Regions from separate parts of the Homo sapiens genome. Here region 2 is linked to region 1. The links are contacts of gene promoters, found by promoter capture Hi-C in blood cells and fetal thymus (Javierre and others, 2016). All regions are on one chromosome and are shown on one strand. The core of a region is centred on a gene start or on the middle of the fragment in contact, and the rest is flanking DNA. Distances in the headings are between cores, read along the strand shown.

Region 1 (7,279 bases), core at 3,314-5,813:
ACCCAGCCAAAGAAGAGTTTATTATCCATTTCTTCTTCCCTTTCCTCCTGCCCTTAAAAAATTACACAGTTCAGTGGGTAAAGTTGGATGACCTTTGGACATTATAACATGGCTACTTTTTTTGCAAAATTAAATCAGAAGTGGATGTGACTTTCTCAAATTGCATTCTTGGTGGGGCACAGTGGCTCATGCCTATAATCTCAACACTTTGGGAAGCTGAAGCGGGAGTATCACTTGAGACCAGAGGTTTAAGACCAGCCTAGGCAACATAGTGAGACCCCATCTCTACAAAAAATATTGGCCAGATGTGGTGGCATGGACCTATAATCCCAGTTACTTAGGAGGCTGAGGTGGGAGGATGGCTTGAGCCTGGGAGATTGAGGTTACAGTCAGTGGTGATTGCACCGCTGCCCTCCAGCCTAGGTGACAGAGCAAGACCCTGTCTTTTTTGGAGAAAGTCTTGCTCTATCACCTAGGCTGGAGCGCAGCGGTGCAATCACGGCTCACTGCAACCCCAAACCCCCAGGAGACAGGGTCTTGCTCTATCACAGGCTGTAGTGAGCCAAGATCAGGCCGCTGCACTGTAGCCTGAGCAACACAGTGAGATTCCATCTCAAATAATAATAATAATTAAGCTTAATGAAACCCCATAGTTAACAAGAAAATATAAAATTGTGTTCCTTATTTACTTAAAGTAGGGAAGTATGTAATACTTTGAAATACCTTTATAAAATGAAGTTTGGTCAATTAAGAGAACATTCTTTGTTTTTCAAACCTCTTTCTGCTTTCAACCTCACACAAAACTATAGGCAATTCAATAAAGGTATCACTTTACATTCCTACATAATTAATTTAGTATATTTCTCATTCATCTGAGAGCATGAATAAAATGTAAAAACAATATTTGGTCAAGAAACACTGCAATGCTAACTATAAGCAAGTTTATACATGAAATAAAAATCTCTAGTTTTAAAGAGATGTAATTTTTCAAAGTATTAAAAATGAATGGAAACTCTAGGACTTTTTTATCTTATTTTAAACTTCTATTTCTTTTTCATTTTATATATTTTTCCTTTTATTCTTAAATACTCTCCCATGCAAAAACCATAGGACTTTATCACCACAAAACCCTAGTGGGAATCAAGCAGTGAAAAAAAGCTTGAGTTCAGACTGTTACAACAATGACCAAACAATATGCCATGGTAATTTAAACTGAAGGAAAATGGACATTTAACTTGCCTCTAAGAGACCTGGGTTAACACCAACATAGGCTGTAGATTCAACCTAATGAGACTGGTCCCACTATAATCTATAAGAAATAGAATAAAACAGAAAGTATGGGAAATTTAATCAGCAGGAGCTAATGGAGAACTGCAAACAAAGTCAAAATTTGAAAATGGCACAAGTCAAAGATCCTACAGAAGGGCAATCATAAAAGCGACAGTAGTAATCTTTTTACCCAAAAAGGTTCTCCCAGATAGCAATCACTATCAACAGTGTCATCTTCCAATGTGAAGGTCAACAAAAAGAGAAGAGACAATATGGAGTATTAAAATGCAGAGTCATGAAAACAAATGAGCTGATATGACATCAAAGACATAATTTGGAAATGTCATTTCAAAAACACAATAGAAAAACAAGAGGAAGAAAGGCAATTAGTTAAAACACTACCTCATCACTACCATCACTATGCCTCCCTTTTAGCCAAGGAGTTGCATTCACACACTGACCTTGTAATTTCCATCTTCTCATGATTTTGAGGCAAACCTACTCCAAAGTGTTTTTCACATATGCATCTCACCAGCAAAAGCATTTCAAAACCAAAATATTAAAATTCCTCAGCTGAACTAAAATGAAAGAGGACATTTATGAAAGCTCAGTAAAAAGAATATGGAGATAAACTGGAAGGAAATCAGAAAATGTTTTTTGCAAAAAAATATGTCTATTAAGTATCAGACTAGACAACTAGTCTGAAAGGTAAAAGTGGAGGAATAAAAAACTCAGCACAAAAAGTTCTACACGTGTAAAATGTGAAGGATATACACATGAATTAGAGGAAGAGTCTCCGGGCTGGACAGCACAGTATTAAGAAAAATTCTTTACTAACCAGATTAAGGATAATTTGAGTTAATACATTGTTTCCACCTTTCTTCCTGGTATGTTCCTTAATCATGTGTCTAAATGTGAAAGGAAAATTTCTAATTTCCCTACATTTTCAAATATCCTGAAATCTCCAAAGAGCCTCCTTCTTGTAAAGCAATTGCTTTTGAAAAGTACTTTCAAGCAGTTTATCATCAATCTCATTTTAAAACGTTTACTTTTGAGAAAGATAATTCATTATAATTTCCTGAAATACTGAGCATCCTAAATTTTTCCAAATTAGCGGATGGGGATGGGAGTTAAGGGGGTTGGGGAGGCTGGCTGCTGGCCCAAATTTCCAGAATCTGATTTCCCTTTCCAAGAATCACAAGAGATAAGAAAAAAGAATTCAGGATAGCAAATAATCCATCTCATCTTAGTACCAAACAGTAAGTACACACATCTCCCACCAGTCTCCCACTCACCCTAGCCTCTCAGCCTAGGCTAGCCTCCATGCTTTTCCCAGTCTACTCCTGAATCGCTCCTAAGCTTTTGTCTCCGGGTCTTTGCTCTTGCTGCTCCCTAGCCTAGAGCACTTTTACCCCAGTATAGCTAAAGAAACAGCACCTTCACCTCTGTTGGGTTTTTCCTCCAGTGTTAGCTTCTCCATGAGGCCTTCTCAGGGCACTTAAAATTAACCCCTCCCCAAACCCCTATTATTCTATCTCCCTGACTCATTTTTTTCTTTCACATCGCTTACCACTACATCAAGTATTTTACCTATTTATCTGTCTAGAAATGAATTCCATACAGACAGGAATTGTTTGGTCTGTTTTGCTCCCAGTACTTAACAGTGTAGTAAGTGCTCAACAGGGTATCTGTCAAATAAATGAATGTATGAATGAATAAACAAATGAATGGAAGCACATGGTTCCTTCTCCCTCCCAAACCTCAAGAGTCTCAAATGCTGTCAGGTACCAAAAAGTCATGAAGCCCTCTCCTTTCTGGTGAAGCACTACCATCACCAGTGTATTCCTTGATGTTAAATTTCGAAAGAAACATCATGTGACATTTTTCCAGTTACGTGCCACTTTTAAATACTTTTCTAGTGTCCTCTTCTGTTGTCAACATCTGATGTAAAAGCCAAGTACATATTCCAGTTTGAGCACATCAGAAACTGCTACACCAACTAGTAAAACACGTAAAACCATCAATGAATAAGAGAAAGTATTTGTGTTCTAGGCAAAATGGACAAAATAAGGCCAAAGCTACAAATATTAGAAGGAGCAAAATTAATGTACAGAAAGAATGACAGAATTTTTTTTTCTAATCTAGGAAGTCATTTGATTCTAAAAAGGACATACTATATAAAGAAAGAATACCTTCCCCAGGCACAACATTGGGAATCAAAACTGCCTTAATTCAATGTATGTAGCTCTAGAAAGGAAGCTGTTCACAGCTTCTAGCCCCATACTCAATTTCTTGCAAGTTAAACTGGAATACTTACCTTTCTTACAGAGAGACTACGTGTGTTTAAGTGCTTTGACTTGCAGGAAAACGAAAACAACAAAATAAAAAACACAGTACTAAATAATTAACTGCAAAACAACGTTATTGCTTCCCAAACACGGTCATACGCTCCGCTTCTTTCATGCCCCCATTCCCTGTTCGCTTGATTTATGTTTCAGTCGCAAAACAAGTATTCAGAGTGCTTTTGGAAACTGACACTTAAGGATAATGCCCATTTCAACCTGATGTGAACATTTGGGTCCCCAAGGCTGCCATGGGCTCTAGTTTCCCAGCCTCGGTCCCAAGGTTCCGATCATGGTGGCTGCACCTCGCCTCAGGCCTGGTCCAGACCCAGTACTCTCGCCACGGAAGGAGTCTCCTCCGTCCAGATGCTCTGTGGGGAAGGCAGGAGCGCACCTCCCAGGGACCAGGTGTGGACAGGAGAGCCGGCAGGAGCAGCTGTCTGGCCGCAGCAGCTGTTACCGGGCCACCCCGAGACTGGGCGGGTGTCTGGCGCGGAGAAGCAAGCAGAGGAAGGCGAGCCCTCCAGCTCCGAGCAAGCCGGCCTGACACTGCCCACCCCACAACCCTCCTGCCTTGTTCGGCTCCCCTCGCAATGCCAAGAGGCCCTGGCCTAGGGGCTTCTCGGCTCCTCGCGGCCGTGACGCGCCAGGGCCCTCAGCGCCCCTCGCCCAGGAGGAGGCTCCCTCCGGCCCTGCACCTGACCTGTCCCGTCGCCTGACGGCCCAAGCCGGCCGGAGCGGCCTGTGGGTGTCCATGCGGCCGGGCCAGCTCGGGCAGGAGGAGCAGGGGCGCGAACGCGGACCGGAGACACAGGCGGCCCGGGACGCGGCGGCGGGGCCGGGGCGCGGAGCAGAGCCGGGCAGGGGAGCGACACGGAACGGCTGGTTACCTGCGGTCCGGGACAGGGAGTCTCAGAACCCCAGTCAGTCCTCAGCCTCAACAACACAAGATGGCCGACACGTCGCCACGCACGTCACGTGACCGCGCTCCCGCTCCGCCACGCCCCCTGCTCCGCCCCCGCCCCTTCCCGCTTCCCTCCCCACTCTCCAGTCTCCCACGACATCCTTCCTTTCCGCCACCACCCGCCCCTCTGCCCAGACACGCCCCTGCCCGAGACCCGGATGAAAGGTTGGAAGAGGGCGGGGCCGTGGCAGTGCGCAGGCTCCCGCTGACCCCTTGGCAGCAGCCGGGTACCTGCCCTTGAGTTGAGTGGTGTTGGTGTCCAGGGTTGGGCCCGGACCAGGCACCGTGTGACTCACTGTCCTGTACGCCCAGAGCTCTTTTGCAGTTCAAAAGCCTCTGCATCACTTGCGGGCTGGTTTTCCAAATTAGAACTTTTCCACAGCTTTTAGTCCGGCATTTTTCTTCGCAGTTGCCATCCTAGAGCGAATGGGAAAGCCGCAAAAGCTGAAATTCAAAGCAGTTTCTCTACTTGTTAACAGTTCTGGTAGAACTGGGAATTCATTTCAGAGTGTTGTACTGGGACAGCTGGAAAGGACTTGAGAGCTCTGATTCCTTCCTAGGACATCTGGGGCTATAACCCTTTTACCTAGAGATGAACTATTTTGGAATTGACAGATAAAATACAAGACACCCAGCAATATTTGGGGCACACACTGAAAAATTGTTCGTTGTTTTTCTGAAATTCAAATTTAATTGGGCGTCCTGTGTTTGCTAAATCTAGCAACTCTATCCTTAGGCATCCCATTCTTGCCTGTGTCTCCAACTTCTTCCTTCCTACAGGATCCTTCCTGTCAGCTTTAAAGATTACTTGTGTCTCCCATCTTAAAATGGAATGTTAAAAACTCCAATTCTCATGCCGGGCGCAGTGGCTCACACCTGTAATCTCAGCACTTTGGGAGGCGGAGGTGGGCGGATCACGAGGTCAGGAGATCGAGACCAGACCATCCTGGCTAACACGGTGAAATCCCGTCTCTACTAAAAATACAAAAAAAAATGTAGCCGGGCGTGGTGGCACGCACCTGCAGTCGCAGCTAGTCGGGAGGCTGAGGCAGGAGAATCGCTTGAACTGGGGAGGCAGACGTTGCAGTGAGCCGATATCGCGCCACTGCACTCCAGCCTGGCGACAGAGCAAGACTCCGTCTAAAACAAAAACAAAAACCTCCAATTCTCGGCCGGGCAGTGGCTCACGCCTGTAATCCCAGCACTTTGGGAGGCCGAGGCGGCGGATCACCTGAGGTTGGGAGTTTGAGACCAGCCTGACCAACATGGAGAAACCCCGTCTCTACTAAAAATACAAAATTAGCCGAGCGTGGTGGCGCATGCCTGTAATCCCAGCTACTTGGGTAGCTGAGGCAGGAGAATCGCTTGAACCCGGGATGCTGAGATTGCGGTGAGCCAAGATCGCGCCACTGCACGCCAGCCTGGGCAACAAGAGTGAAAATCCGTCTCGAAAAAAACAAATAAACAAACAAACAATCAAAAACACCAATTCTCCCTCCTGCGACCCTGTTCCCTTTCAAAGCCAAGCTGCACCAAAGAATTGTTTATATGCACTTTCTCCATTTCCACACCTGGCATGCAATCATCAACCACACCGATGTGGCTTCTGTCCTTTCCTATCTGCCTATTGCTTGCCCTAAGAACACCCCATCCTACAGGTTGATAACTGGAGTCTTTCAGTCCTCATCTTGACTTCGTGTTTCCCTGTCTTCAATATGATTGGCCTCTTCCTACTTTCTGAAACACTTTATTTATTTATTTATTTATTTTTGAGACAGTTTCGCTCTTGTTGCCCAGGCTGGAGTGCAATGGCGTGATCTCCGCTCACCGCAACCTCCGCCTCCCAGGTTCAAGCGATTCTCCTGCCTCACCCTCCCAAGTAACTGAGATTACAGGCATATGCCACCACGCCCGGCTAATTTTGTATTTTTAGTAGAGACGGGGTTTCTCCATATTGATCAGGCTGGTCTTGAACTCCCGACCTCAGGTGATCCGCCCACCTCGGCCTCCCAAAGTGCTGGGATTACAGACATGAGCCACCGCTCCCGGCCTTCTGAAACACTTTCTTCCCTTGACTTTTATACCCTTACCGCTCAAAGTGGTACAGTAGCATCAACATCACGTGGAGACTTGTTAGAAATACAGAAACTCAAAGGAGCCCTTCACAGTCCCATTCTGCAGAATTCTACCCCCATAGCTTGGGAAAACATAGAGAGATCCCATTTCTAAAAAAAAATAAATACATAATAATTAGCCAGGCGTGGTGGCGTGCACCTGCAGTCCTAGCTACTTGGGAGGCTGAGGATCACCAGCCCAGGAATACAAAGCTACAATGAGCTATGATCATGCCACTGCACTCCAGCCTGGGCAAAAGAGCAAGACCCTGTATCTAAAACAAACAATCAAAAAGAACTCTACCCATCATCCATGTTGTTCTCTTCTCCTTGATCTTCCCCCTGAACTAAGTGCTCCAGATAGGCCCATGTTAAAAGATTCGTAAACATGACATTATGTTTTAGCCTTTGCACATGCTGTTCCATCCTGCTGCAATGCCGTTCCCAACACTTACCCACTTCTCCCCAACCTGCAACTCCTGCCAGTCCATGTGTTACTGCCTCTGTGCCTCCATTAGACCAAAGAATTTACCCCTTGAGCTGTTATTTTTAAGGAAAAAAGTAATACTAATACTTGTTATGTACTGACC
Region 2 (7,440 bases), core at 3,878-6,377, 650 kb before region 1:
TGCAGGCACAAAGGGCTCCAGCCTCCCCACAGGGTTGGGACTTTTCTATCAATTAACTACATGTGGAGTGATACACAGAGGCAAAACCCTGGAGGAGTGTGCAAGGCGGAGGAGGGGCGGGGACGCACAGGGGAAGAAACAGTTCATTCCTTCATTCCGCGGGGGAGCCGGGTGACCTGAGCAGGGTTTGGGATTGGAATGGAGAGGTCAGATATGAAGGGAGTTTCCCAGGAAAACGCAAAAACGGGGAGACTACCCCTACCAGGTGAGCAGAGCGGGTGACGAGGGATTTTGGTGAAGCCGGTAGCAAGGCGGGTGCGGGAGGCAGGGAGGTGAGCAGCGGCGCCAGGATGCAGAGTAGCCTCCCGGCCCTGCTCTGAGGCAAGGACTTCAGTCCCGTGGGCACTGGAGCTGGCAAGGGGGTTTGGGAAAGCAGAGGAACTCATGTGTCTGGGCAGAGAATGATCCATAGGAGAGAAGACTAGAAATAGGGAGGCCATTAAAATGCTGTTGCCGGCCGGGCGCGGTGGCTCACGCCTGTAATCCCAGCACTTTGGGAGGCTGAGGCAGGCGGATCACGAGGTCAGGAGATCGAGACCATCCTGGCTAACACGGTGAAACCACGTCTCTACTAAAAATACAAAAAATTAGCCTGGCGTGGTGGCGGGCGCTTGTAGTTCCAGCTACTCGGGAGGCTGAGGCAGGAGAATCACTTGAACCCCGGAGACAGAGGTTGCAGTGAGCCGAGATTGTGTCACTGCACTCCAGCCTGGGCAACAGAGCGAGACTCCGTCTCAAAAATAATAATAATAATAATAATAATAATAAATGCTGTTGCCTACACCTGTTAGGAGCTCAGGGGACATCCAGGCCCCAGAACTCATCATTTTAGAGTCAAGGAGGCAAGGGCATGAACGTGACGGTTAAGAAGCAGAAACCGTGGCTGGAGAGGAGGAAATCTGCAATTACCAGAAAGTACTGAGATTGTCACAGACAAGAGGAGCCAAGGAGACATGATGACTAAACGTCACGTGGGTTCCTAGATGGGATCCCAGAACAGAAAAAGGACATTAGGTAAAAGCTGAGGACATCAGAATTAAGTATGGGGCTTTAGTTTAATAATAATGCATCAATATTGATTCCCGGGTAGGAGGAGGGTGAGGATTGAAGAACTACCTATCGGGGATTATTGTGCTGATTACTTGGGTGACAAAAGTATCTATCTGTACACCAAACCGCCATGACATGCAATTTACCCATGTAAAAAACCTGCACATGTACCCCCTGGACCTAAAATAAAAGTTGGAAAGAAATAAGTATATTTTACTGGAAACAACATTTGAGTCACTCAGTGTGGCAAATGTACCCTACTCATGTAAGGGTTAATAATAGGGGGTTTTGGGTGTGGGGGACCTCAGTATAACATCTTTGCAACTTTTCTGTAGATCTAAAACTACTCAAAATAAAAAGTGTATTTTAAAAAAAGAGGATTAGGCTTGGTAAGAATTATATTCTTAAAGCAAAGAAAACTGGCATAAATGTTCTTTGATGATGAAGCAGCTTTTTTGTTCTCCTGGTGAGCGCACAGCGCTGTTCCCCTGGAGATCTCAGGAAGGGCTGAGACATCAACTCCCCCAAAGCGGTGGCCTGGAAGAGCACATTCCCTCCGGTGCCTCTTTATTGAATGAGTCACACTATGAATCATCTCTAACGACAGCCTGCTCCCTGAGTCTACCCCACCTTGAGGGCATATCAAGATGGCAGTAATAACACACTTCACGTCCAACCTAATTCTTCTTTGTGACACGTCAGTGAAGAGGCGCAACTCCTGTCAGAAAGAACCACTTCACATTGGAGAATATAAAAGGGAAACTTGAAAACATGGGAATCATCCAATTTTTACCCTGAACTAGGGTCATGATTGTCATTTGGAGCAGCACATTTCTCCACTGCATGTGACATAGAGCTTCTGGTCCCCAAGCATGTGAAAACCAAAAACCACCATACACATTTCCAAATGTCCCCAACTCCCACCCCGCACCTGCCCTACTCCTCAAAGATCAGTAAATGCGACTCAGTCCTGTGAAATGAAACTGGAAGGAAGAAAGGTTTTTTAAATGTTAAAGGAGTAGGAAAACAGACACCCTAAAAAGGAATTAACCACACATGTGACAAAATTGCAGAGAACTGAATACACACACTAGTACAAATCCAGTTGTGGAGATCTCAGTCAGATGAGCAGACTGGACCCACGTCGATACCCCGCTGGGATATTGTACTGTAGCTTTACATGATGTTGCCACTGGAGGAAGTTGGGTAAAGCGTTCCTGGGGTCTCTCCGTATTACCCCTTACAACTGCATGTGAATGTGCAAGTCTCTCAATGAAAATTTCTTTTTTTTTTTCTTTTTGAGATGGAGTCTCGCTCTGTTGCCCAGGCTGGAATGCAATGGCACAGTCTGGGCTCACTACAACCTCCACCTCTTGGGTTCCAGCGATTCTCCTGCCTCAGCCTCCTGAGTAGCTGCGATTACAGGCACCTGTCACTATGCCCAGCTAATTTTTTGTATTTTTAGTAGAAACGGGGTTTCTCCATGTTGGCCAGGCTGGTCTTGAACTCCTGACCTCATGATCCGCCCGCCTCGGCCTCCCAAAGTCCTGGGATTACAGGCATGAGCCACCTCGCCCAGCCTGAAAATTTCAATGGAAAAAAAAAATAGCAAGGGCCAAGGGCAGTTGTTGTTGAATCCTAAATGCTAATCTCCCTCCCCCCACTCCACCAAACTCTCCTACTTCCATTCAGCACCATACAGTGGGCAAAGGTCTAGTTATAGACTCAGGGACACCAGCATTCAAGCCTTGACTCTCACTAGCTGTGTGACCTATGTGTAAGGTACATAACCTTTCTGAACCGCAATTTCCTCATCTAAGAAATATGAATGATGCTACTGATTTATAAGTACTACTGAAATGGTTACATGTCAGATGTGAAGTACTTGGCACAAGGTAGGCACTCCATCAATAGCAGGGATCCATCCCCCTTCTCCAGCCCTTCATTGCTGGTTGCAGAACTTTCTCCATGCAGCACCTTCAACTGCTCTGTACCCCGTTTCTTGCACTGCATCTGTCCCAAAAACTCTGGGCCACACATTCAACCTGCACGTAGACTTCCTGCCTCCTGATACCAAGGGACACTACATGCCAGTAGACAGCCCCACACATGTGCAGGCTGAGCTGAGCCAAGCTTCCACTTTCTGCTCAGGGCAGCTGGCTGCTCGCTTCCTCCCCCAACTCCCTCCCCAGCGTGGCCAGCTGCAGGCCATAAACAAGCCAGCACCTGGAGGGCGTATCGAGACATTTTGGCACCAAAATAACTAGGAGGGTAAGGGCTGTGCTGACCTCTGCTCTCCAGGGATTGGTCTTCCAGCCCTTCCCTCCAGCTCTCTCACCCACGTAGTTCCAAAGGTCGGGCTTATTAACGTCCACCCTGACTTAGGATGTCCTGGGGTCAAGCAATGCAGGAACCAACGGGCTGGTCCTCTCACCAGGCACCACAGGGCAGAATCCCAGGCCCTGGGCTAGCCCAAGAGCTCTAGCAGGAGCTAAACACAGCAGCCTGTGTGCTGTGGCAGAGGACAGGGGAAGGGCTCAGTGCAATGGGGAACAGCTTTGGGAATCCTCAGAGGAGTGTGCCACCCTGGCCATCCCTTGTCTGCGTGCCCTGAGGGGAGCATGGGTTGAAATGGTCGTGCACCATTACCTTAGCATAGAGAGAAAAAGAACGAGGGACTGTGTCTGATCCTGCTAACTCGCAGCCTGAAGGACCAATCTTCCACCTGTAGTCTAGTGTATTATAAATCCTCCTCCCAATGCCAGGATGCGTGAGCCAGCACACGGGTCCACACCTCGCTTTGTCTGGGATCCCATCCAAGCTTCCCAAGTGGAGCCTCCTCATCTAAATCCCAATCTCCAGGACCCGAACAGCTGGAATCCTTCTGAACAACCCCAGATGCTGGGAACCTTCATGTGTATGGAACCCATACCCTGGCCAGCCCTCTGTCGCCATGTTCCATCCCAGAAGCCTGATCCACGTGTACTCCCCATCTAGAACCCCTCCCACTCACCCTCTGCCTTCTGTGAGTGGGTTGAACTGTGGAGGAATCTCCAACCCCCCTTTACCCTGCTCCCTTAAAGCATGGACCAGAGATGGACCAGAGCCTATGCATCTCCATCCTCTCCTTGGCCGCCATGAGCCTGTTCAGTATCTGTGCCATCAGCAGCAGGCCCGGTGGGTACCTCAGGGCAGGAAGGGACCCCACAAAGGAAAGGCCCTGGTATCACCTCTATTATCCCTCCTCCACCTGCAGTTCACCTTCCTCCCTGACACTCAGAGTGCTCTCCCCTATGCCTCTCACGCCCAGTCTCAGTGAAGCACGCTCTAAGTAAGCCCATGTGACTCACAATCAACCCCCTTTTCTGGGACTCTCCATCTCCAGGGCTGGGCTCTGCCATCGCTGACCACGGGGTGTTGATCCTCCCAGCCAAAGCTGAGCCAGTTGGATTCTCCTTCCCAATAACTGCCCACTGGGACCAAGAGACGCAGAGCTGGGAACGTATGGTGCTGAGCTGCATGAAGAGCCGCCCTGGAGAGTGGGTCCCTGACCCCTGAAGCTTCTCTGATTCCTGCTTACCCCAGGTGTGGCAGCTCAGGTTTGTCCTTCAGTTCTCTGATCACACCGGGGTCCTCCCACTACATTCCTTCTCCCCACCTTAATTTAACCAAATCTGATTTTGCTTCTTGCATTGAATAGAACTTTACCAACAACCCAAAGCTCAAACAGACACCTGGACCCAAAAGTTGAATCATTAACCAAGAGTATTTTTGTCCACAGATGTTCTCTGCCCTATTTAACTTAGGAGGCTCTTTAGGGGCCTGGAAGTTGGGACTGGTCAGGTAATTAGAAACATACACTGGTGGCCAGGCGCAGTGGCTCACGCCTGTAATCCCAGCACTTTGGGAGGCTAAGGTGGGTGGATCACCTGAGGTCAGCAGTTTGAGACCAGCCTGGCTAACATGGTGAAACCCTGTCTCTAATAAAAATACAAAAAATTAGGCGGGCATGGTGGCACACGCCTGTAATCCCAGCTACTCAGGAGGCCGAGGCAGGAGAATGGCGTGAACCCGGGAGGCGGAGCTTGCAGTGAGCTGAGATCACGCCACAGCACTCCAGCCTGGGCAACAAGAGCGAAACGAAGGAAGGAAGGGAGGGAGGGAGGAATAAAGGAAGGAAGGAAGGAAGGACAGACGGACAGACGGGAAGGCACTGTTTCCAGAGAAACAGCTCAGACTGGGACTCCTAGGAAAGCCCCTGGACACACCGAGGGCCCCACCTGGTGAGCACATTGATTTCCAGACGCCTTCTCTCCCTCATGGGAGTGGTGAGCCCTTCCGTGGGAGGCTGGCCTCCCTCTCCCCAACCCTCCCACTCCAGGGACCCTAATGGTGGCAGCTTGTGTCATGTCATCAACTCAGCCTCCCCAACAAATCAACCAACTCATGACCCAGGGGAGAACAAACAAGCTTTATTTCTCGGAAGAAGACTCATCCTTTCATACGCAGCATAACTCCAAAGGACTAAACTGTGGGGCTTTGCTCGTTGCACTGGTAACTACAGGTCATTTTCCGGCATCCTGAGCCGACATCTTCACTCATCAACGTCATTCTTGTCTCTCTTCCCCTCCTCAGCTTCTCCTGCATCTTTCAGATTATGGCGAGCAAACTCCTCAAAAACTAAATTTGCATCCTGATAACTAAAATAAAACAAACAACATTTTGATCATTGCACGCCCTTTGAAGCTGAAACTGAAACAAGATCCTTGATCTTTTTGCAACGAAGGAACTGATCAAGGTTTTCCCCATGATAGAACATGGGGGCACGCCATTTTCCTCAAGGCTTCGTTTAAAATTCCTTTAACTAGCACCAATGGGAGAAAACAAAGGCACGCGCAGAGTGAGCAAGCACACCCAGTGTAATGGTGCGTGCGTGCCGTAAGCACTAGGGAGCAGACGGGAAGTAGCGGATGTGCCTCCTGAGCCGGCAGGAGAGCTTGGGATATGTGCAAAGACTCAAAGAGGGTTTTGTGCTGGAGGAGAAGGTCCCAGAGCATAGGACAAATCAGGGCCACATTCAAGAGGCTCACTCACCTTTCCTTAGCTGTAAGCATGGAATAAAAGGGAGGCAGGGAAGAGGGAGAGAGAGACATTTGTTAGTCTAAATTCTATATCATAGCTGTACCTAGAAAATGTCTACCTTTTAGGTGACTTTACAATTTGAGAGATAAGGCCTAGATACATGCAGTTCATGATCACTGCGTGTAATTCCTGCCTCCCTGCCTTTCCCACTGGAACAGCTTTTCTCCTTGCATTTTATTTATTTTATATTTTATTTTATTATTTTATTTTATTTGAGACTGTCTCTCTCTGTCACCCAGGCTGGAATGCAGTGCCACAATCTCTGCTCACTGCAACCTTTGCCTCCTGGTTTCAAGAGTTTCTCGTGTCTCAGGCTCCCAAGTAGCTGGGATTACAGGCATGCGCCATTATGCCTGGCTAATTTTTGTATCTGTAGTAGAGAAGGGGTTTCAACTATGTTGGCCAGGCTGGTCTCAAACTCCTGACCTCAAGTGATCTGCCAGCCTCAGCCTCCCAAGTGCTGGGATTACAGGCGTGAGCCACTGCGCCCGGCCTCTCCTTGCATTTTAAATCACTGCTTCCTTTACAATGTGCCACAGCCTTCACCTCCTCACATGAAACCCCCCCAGTCTCAACTCTAGGATGCTTTCCCTGATCAGCCTTGCCCCCTCTGATGTCGCTTCTCCTTTCTTATTTATTTATTTGAGATGGCATCTTGCTCTGTTGCCCAGGCTGGAGTGAAGTGGCACAATCTCGGCTCACTGCAACCTCCGTCTCCCAGGTTCAAGTGATTCTCCTGGCTTAACCTCCCAAGTAGCTGGGATTACAGGCACCCACCACCATGCCTGGCTAATTTTTGTATTTTTAGTAGAGACGGGGTGTCACCGTGTTGGCCAGGCTGGTCTCGAACTCCTGACCTCAAGTGTTCCGCCCGCCTTGGCCTCCCTGCCCAGCCAGTTGCTTCGCCTTTCAAAGTATTTCTCCTTCCATGTCCTCGGGACCCCATTGAGGTCAGGGTCGCCAGGGTGCCGTGAGCATGTGCACCCTGGCACCTCCATCTGTCAGGCTTCAGAGGCCTGAGACCTGGGACTTGACGTTCACCAGCACCCCAGGGTTAGAGTGTGCATTAAAGCTTGAGGACCAACCCCCAGCCGCAAAGTTTTCAATTTCTGTTAACATATTGATTTTGTTGTTGTTGAGTTATGTTTTCACATGTGTTGTATCCCCAGACTAACTGCTATTAATTTG

What was found. Contacts are between HindIII fragments. The CHiCAGO score rates a contact against its expected background, and 5 or more counts as called.
Region 2: a fragment that was not itself captured here is called in contact with the fragment with the promoter of GIGYF2 in region 1 in 1 of 17 cell types (neutrophils); the score reaches 5.4 in neutrophils.

The regions. Positions count from the first base shown.
Region 1 is chr2:232,694,615-232,701,893 of GRCh38, reverse strand. It overlaps GIGYF2 (GRB10 interacting GYF protein 2), which reads right to left and starts at 4,563. Exons shown (of 29, transcript NM_001103146.3): 1 at 4,502-4,563. RefSeq lists enhancers at 3,365-4,059, 4,060-4,756 and silencers at 4,261-4,590, 4,621-4,710. The HindIII fragment of the contact is 8,556 bases long and covers 2,631-7,279 here.
Region 2 is chr2:233,345,177-233,352,616 of GRCh38, reverse strand. SAG (S-antigen visual arrestin) reads right to left here. Exons shown (of 16, transcript NM_000541.5): 15 at 6,205-6,214; 16 at 5,562-5,810. The coding sequence ends at 5,705. Among named protein-coding and RNA genes, the nearest start is that of DGKD, 5.6 kb to the left of the region's middle. RefSeq lists an enhancer at 3,017-3,116. The HindIII fragment of the contact is 910 bases long and covers 4,673-5,582 here.